Linked DNA regions of Homo sapiens: region 1 is linked to region 2. Evidence: promoter capture Hi-C in 16 types of primary human blood cells and fetal thymus (Javierre and others, 2016). All regions are on one chromosome and are shown on one strand. Each heading gives the region's core, a stretch centred on a gene start or on the middle of the fragment in contact. The rest is flanking DNA. Distances are from core to core; before and after follow the strand shown. Region 1 overlaps BICD1 (BICD cargo adaptor 1). Region 2 holds the start of RESF1 (retroelement silencing factor 1).

The links. Contacts are between HindIII fragments. The CHiCAGO score rates a contact against its expected background, and 5 or more counts as called.
Region 1: a contact is called between a fragment that was not itself captured here and the fragment with the promoter of RESF1 in region 2, in 1 of 17 cell types (naive CD4 T cells). The highest score is 5.2, in naive CD4 T cells.

Annotation. Positions count from the first base shown.
Region 1 is chr12:32,139,768-32,142,856 of GRCh38, forward strand. All of the region lies in intron 1 of BICD1 (BICD cargo adaptor 1), which reads left to right. Among named protein-coding and RNA genes, the nearest start is that of BICD1-AS1, 34 kb to the left of the region's middle. RefSeq lists an enhancer at 179-228. The HindIII fragment of the contact is 1,571 bases long and covers 517-2,087 here.
Region 2 is chr12:31,958,111-31,961,304 of GRCh38, forward strand. It overlaps RESF1 (retroelement silencing factor 1), which reads left to right and starts at 1,305. Exons shown (of 6, transcript NM_018169.4): 1 at 1,305-1,381; 2 at 2,667-2,761. LOC105369725 (a long non-coding RNA gene) reads right to left here and starts at 1,194. Exons shown (of 2, transcript XR_931503.2): 1 at 1,018-1,194; 2 at 383-694. RefSeq lists an enhancer at 1-223 and a silencer at 1,276-1,615. The HindIII fragment of the contact is 2,403 bases long and covers 517-2,919 here.

The DNA of each region.
Region 1 (3,089 bases), core at 52-2,551, 180 kb after region 2:
TGGCCAGGATGCTCAAACCCCTGACCTCGCGATCCGCCCGCCTCGGCCTCCCAAAGCGCTGAGATTACAGGCGTGAGCCACCGCTCCTGGCCTGGGCACAGAGTTAAAAAAAAAATACTGGTAACAGAAAACTTGTTGGCGTGTTTCAGTTTTCAGAGTCTTCTATAAGGTCTTATACCAGCCGAGAAGCAGCAGAACCATCTGTCCGTGTACCGAGGACGGATCTCAGCAGCTCTCTGTTCAGTGGCTCCTGCCTTTGTAGTGGATTCCCTTGCTGTGCTGTAATTAAGTCAGCCGGCAGGAGTTCCTGTTTTGAGGGGGCCTCTCCCGGCTGGAGAAGTACCACTGCCTTTGTGTTACCTGCCATGTTATTGTGGAGTGGATAATTTTTTTTTCCTGCATGGGTCTTGGTTTAACAGCAGGATCCTCTGGGCTTCTTCCAAGAAGCACCACATTTCCCTGAAAATAAATGGCAGATGAATTATTTCTTGAGATTATGAAAATCTGTTAGATGAAAGCTTGCCTTTTTCTCATGTTCAAAACAATGCTAAATGCTTATAATTATACTCCCAATGAATTACTTCTTTCACTGGCTTCCTTTGCTCTGGCAAAGGTGGATTTTTTTTCCATGGCAGAGAAATTTTATAAAAAATGTAATATTTTAGAAAATGCCTAAATGTCAAGAATACAACATCTTGTTTGTTGTTGTTGTTGTTGTTTTGTTTGTTTTTTGATACGGAGTCTCGCTCTGTCGCCCAGGCTGGAGTGCAGTGGCGCAATCTCAGCTCAATGCAACCCCGCCTCCCGGGTTCAAGCAATTCGCTGCCTCAGCCTCCCGAGTAGCCTCCATTGAAGGAAGTGCCATAGTGTGGGAGGATCTTTTTATTTTCTACGCGCACCGTATTTGATTCTGTGTTTACAGGAACTGTGTCTGTAGACAAAAAGCAAAATGTTGGGGTTTAGTTTCTTCAGGTGAATAAAATGTTACTTGCATCTCCTCATTGTCACAGTGTTCGTATTACATACTTCGTGTGTGTAGTTTTGGCATTTAAGGAAACAGAGCTAAAAAAAAAACAAAGGACAATAACTGCATCAACAACATGTTATACACCAGAGGAAATGCGGCGACTTAGGTTCTGTGATGGGAAACCCGGATTTTTTTGTTGTACTTGAAATCTTCCGTAGAACGTACGTGTTTGCATGACCCAGAAAGGAAAACACATTGGAGGACTTTGTACTAGTTCCATTCTAATTCTGTAAAATTCTCACAAATTCAGGCATCTGTTAACCCTTCGAGGGCATATAAGTTCAGAGCCATGTTTTCTGTTTTGTGTCTTTCCCTTTGGCGGAGTGGTTACCTTTTCTGAGCCCTTGGCTTGCTTTCTGTGAACATAAGGCGCTCCATCTGCCGCTTTAAAGTGAAGATTTATAATTCAAACAAGACAGCGTTTCGATGTTGCACTCCTGTCTTATTAGATATCAACTTAAAGTTAAGAAAATGGAATTATTCAAGGCCTTGTTATCTAGTTTATAGCTTATTCAGAATTTATATTTCTGATTTTTTTTTGTCCTGATGACTGCCTGTGACTAATTTGTGTTTTTGTTATTAAGCTAAGATTGTATGAAAAATATGGCAAAAACAAAATTCTATATTTCTAATGCCCCATGAGAAATCTGATTTAGAGGCCCTTCCTTTGGACACACTTTTTGTTTTGTTTTGTTTTTGAGCGGAGTCTTGCTCTGTCGCCCAGGCTGGAGTGCAGTGGTGCAATCTCGGCTCACTGCACCCTCCACCTCCTGGGTTCAAGCGATTCTCCTGCCTCAGCCTCCCGAGTAGCTCGGAGTACAGGCGCCCGCCACTACGCCCAGCTAATTTTTCTATTTTTAGTAGAGGTGGGGTTTCACCATGTTGGCCAGGCTGGTCTCAAACCCCTAACCTTAAATGATCCATCCGCCTCAGCCTCCCAAAGTGCTGGGATTACAGGCGTGAGCCACCGCGCCTGGCCTGGACACCCATTTTGAATAGCACTTACCACAGATTCCCGAAGCCAGTGGTTTTCTAGCCTTTTTATTCGCCGTTCGTTGTAAGCTTCTTGAGTCTTGGTGATTCTTGTTTCATTTGTTTTTGTTTCTCCCCAGAGCCTAGCACATAGTAGGTGACGAACAAATGTTCATCGAATGTATGGGCTCAACCATAGTCTATTTTTTTCAAAAAGGTATAAATCTTATCAATGTTTTACATTTTGCTGAACAAAACAGGAGAGAGCGGATTCTTTTCAAATAGGAAAAATTAGGGAGGGAAAAGAGGGATTGACTGAAACTCTATTGAAGTATGTCAACATAAAAGTTTATTGACAGCCTGGCGTGATGGCTCAGGCCTGTAATCCCAGCACTTTAGGAGGCCAAGGTGGGCGGGTCACTAGAGGTCAGGAGTTCGAGACCAGCCTGGCCAACATGGTGAAACCCCGTCTCTATTAAAAATACAAAAATTAGCCAGGTGTGGTGGCAGGCGCCTGTACTCTGAGCTACTGGGGAGGCTGAGACAGGAGAATCGCTTGAACCTGGGAGGCAGAGGTTGCAGTGAGCTGAGATCGTGTCACCACACTTCCAGCCTGGGCAAAAGAGTGAGACTCTGTCTAAAAAAAAAAAAAAAAAAAAAAAAAACAAAAAACCCCACCTATCTATCCTATCTATCTATCTATCTATCTATCTATCTATCTATTGGTCTATCTATCTAGATAAAAATAGCAGTCAACTAATTTTTCAAATTAAAAATGCTTTATTGTTATTTATAGCATGATTGTTTTTCTATAAAAAAGGCATATTACAACAGCCTTCGCTTCACATCTGACTCTTGCAGCATTCTTATAAAGAGATCTCACACCATATTTGAGGGCTTCATTAGTTTTCTAAGCCTTAAAAAAATTTCATCATTAAGATTATTCTCTCATGAAGCACCCAAAATATAGACAGCTTTTCTTATTTTCTTTTCTTCAATTGTTGACAGTCTAATGCTGCCAGATCTTTATCTGTCAGGGACTTTTGATGTTGTTGGAGCCATCTCTTGTGGACTTTATGAAATCTTGCAT
Region 2 (3,194 bases), core at 55-2,554:
CCAGCTACTTGGGAGGCTGAGGCAGCAGAATGGCGTGAACCTGGGAGGCGGAGCTTGCAGTGAGCCGAGATCGTGCCACTGCACTCCAGCCTGGGCGACAGAGCGTGACTCCGTCCCCCCCCCAAAAAAGAAAGAATATTCTGTATGTAGTTTTTTTGTTTTGTTTCTGACAGACGCAAACGCACTCTTCTAGTAATGACTAAAGACTTCTTCGTTTAATTCACCAATGAACTAATCTGACAATTTATGTAACAAATAAATTCCTATAAACATAAGCTCCCTTGCCCCTCTCCAGTGGCACAATCTCTGATTTGCCATCCTGGTTGCAACCTTCATTACTAAGTAAACGCTTACGTAAACCTTAATAATGAGATTCGGGCAATATGATTAAATATTGGTTTATTTGAGTGCAAAGTTTGAGGATGGCGACCCGGTAGGACACAGACTCCAAAAGATGGGGGTCAGTGCTTCGAAAGGGAGAAGTTTGAGGGTCGTTTACACAGGCAGGGTCTGGGAAGCTTAACAGGATGTCAACATTTTCCATAGAAGGTTAACGCATAGCAATTTGATTGGTTCAAGGCAGTGTTTCTTTTTGGGAAGGGTCTATTTAACATTCCACATTAAGGATGTAATAGTCAAGCGGTCATTTATCTTATTCAATGCGTATTTTATCTCAGATGCCATCTGGTCTGAGCTGGGAACAAGAAAATAAGGGAGTTAATCTATAACAAAAGGTCGGCAATTAAGAGGTCGTGCTTCGTGATCTGGTCTCCAAAGTCAACTTTCCTCAGGGACTTTCAGAATCCCCAAATAGACTATCCACTTTCTTTCACACTTATTTGCCTCTAACTTGTTGATTTCTTTTTTTTTTTTCTGTTTTTTAAGGGTTAACAATCTCTTGGGTGCACTCTGACTTCCATGCGCTTTATAGAAAAAATTGGTCCTGAGGCCAGCAGCAACAGTCGGTCTCAGGAACTTGTTAGAAATGCACATTTTTCAGCCCCACCCCAAACCTACTGAATCAGCAGTTTTGCTGGTGGTTCTCAATCTCTCTTTAACGTGCCCTCTGGGTGCTGCGGATGCACGCTGAAGGTAGAAGATCGCTGCAGGAGATTTCCGCGTCGGGCAGATGAAAGCGCTCTGCAAGCCCGGGTGTTATCTGCGGGCCGGGTCCGCGGCTTCTCTGGTGGCACTAGGACCGCGGCGGCGCGGCCCTCGCAGCCACCGCCTCGGGCGTGAGGCGGAGCGTAGCTGTTCCTGGATCCTGGGCCTGGCTCCTCGACCCGCCCCTGGAGGCGGACCCCACTTGACTTAAACTCTGGGGCCCGGGAGGCCGCCGGTTTTCTCCCCGCTTGCCGGGGTGGTCCTCTTCCCTTTGTCGGTAAGTGTGAGACGAGCACCCCGAGGTCCCTCCGCCTTCCGGGGTCCGGGCGGGGCGGGGGCCGGGAGCCGGGAGCCAGAGGCACTCGCGGTCCGGGCCTGCGCGCGGCGCAGAGCGCTTTTGTTCTGCGGCAAAGACGCAGTCGCGGGCGGCCCCGGAACCCGGGCCTCGGGCCCCGCCGGCTCGCGCGTCCCGCCGTCCGCCCACCGGAGCTGGGCCGGGCCGCCGCGCTTGCTTCTGCCCGCCGCACCGGGGCCGGCCCTGGGCCTCCGCGGATGCCGAGCCTTGCACCGGAGGGCGGGCCTCGCTGGCTGTTTTCCCTCATTGCCTGGCTCTGCGCGGTAGAGGTCGCGAGTGGCGAAGGCTAGGACGCATTTTGTCGAACTGCGAGGCGCGGCTGGTGAGGCGGGTGGGTATGAGAGCTGCTTATGTTTTTAAGGCTTTCCTGTCGCTGGAGTGAAAAAGAAAAATCTTTTTTTTTTTTTGCTATTTCCCGAGGGTTCTCCTCCTCCCCGGCCCTCTTAAGCCGAAGCCTCCTGGAACAGAATTGCTGTACTGGCATCTATCTCCAAGTGGTCCGCGAACGCTTCTGCGCCGGCGATGGTTTCTGTTCCTCAGCAATAGTTCCTTGAGGCATTTTTAAATGCACAAACGCATACCCATCTTAGGTGTTCTCGAGGGACACGGATTCCCTAAGCAAACGTCCTTAGGGTCCTGAGTTCAGCAGCAAACTTTCGGGGAATCATTTCCGTGAAAACAATTTATTTGTAGTACATCGAGTGCATACTGTCTTAACATAAGGATGTGTATGAGCTTGAGGCGCATTTTCATTTAGTGGCGGGCGGGTGCATTTCAGTAGGCGGGCCGCAGAGCTTGTTTGGGGATTGCATTTTTCTGCTAAATGTGTTAGCTTTAATCATGTTTCAGTCACTGTTAATGTGCATGCATGTTAAGGTTTTAGGTTTTTTCCCCTGTGCAGTCGGATTTTTTTCTGTTTAATATTAATCCAATAAAGACAAGTGCAGAGATAAAGTATTATTGTTTTGCAGTGATACTACAATAGCGGACCTAGAGGAGCGCACATAAATTCTAACTTAAGTGAATGGTATTTTCAGGCCAGACCTAGTTTCTATTTCTGTTACTTAGGACACTTAATAAGAATTCAGTAAACTTAGCATGCTTTCAGTGCAGCCATAAAAGAAAACAGTTTTGCACAGCAGTGTCATATCTAGTAAACACATTAGCATGTGCTCTTTTATTATAAAATGTTTCTTGCTGTCCCTAGGACCAAAGAAGTAAACACTGTGTGGAGAGGGACTGACGTGTTTGGAGGGAAATGGGAATGTACACGATAATTAAAGAGTAAAGTTGTGCTCAACGGTAAGTGTATCACCTCTAAGAAACCCGCCCTGATTTAACCAGGCGGTTATTCACACTCAACTATGGAGTAATTCACCTATTACCGAATAAAATTACTAGCTCAGTGAATCAACATCGGTTTTAAATTAAACTGTGGGTCACAATGGAATTGACAGCAAAGCTTGAGAAGAAATGTTGTTGGCATAGTACTGAAAAATCAGTTGTTAATCTTAGCAAAATAAGGAAAGAGGTCTTTGGTAAGGGAATTGTGGTGGAAGTTACCTGGGCAGAGGTCTGCTTCTGTCTGTGCTGTGTTTATTTGATTGTTTTTATTATATTTTATTACTGTTGGTGGCACATAGGGGAATGTGGCGCAGAGCACCACTCTGGGAGGATGCTTCCCGTGCAGCCAAAGTGATCATGTCCAGGGCTTTCATCTGTAACCACAAAGTGT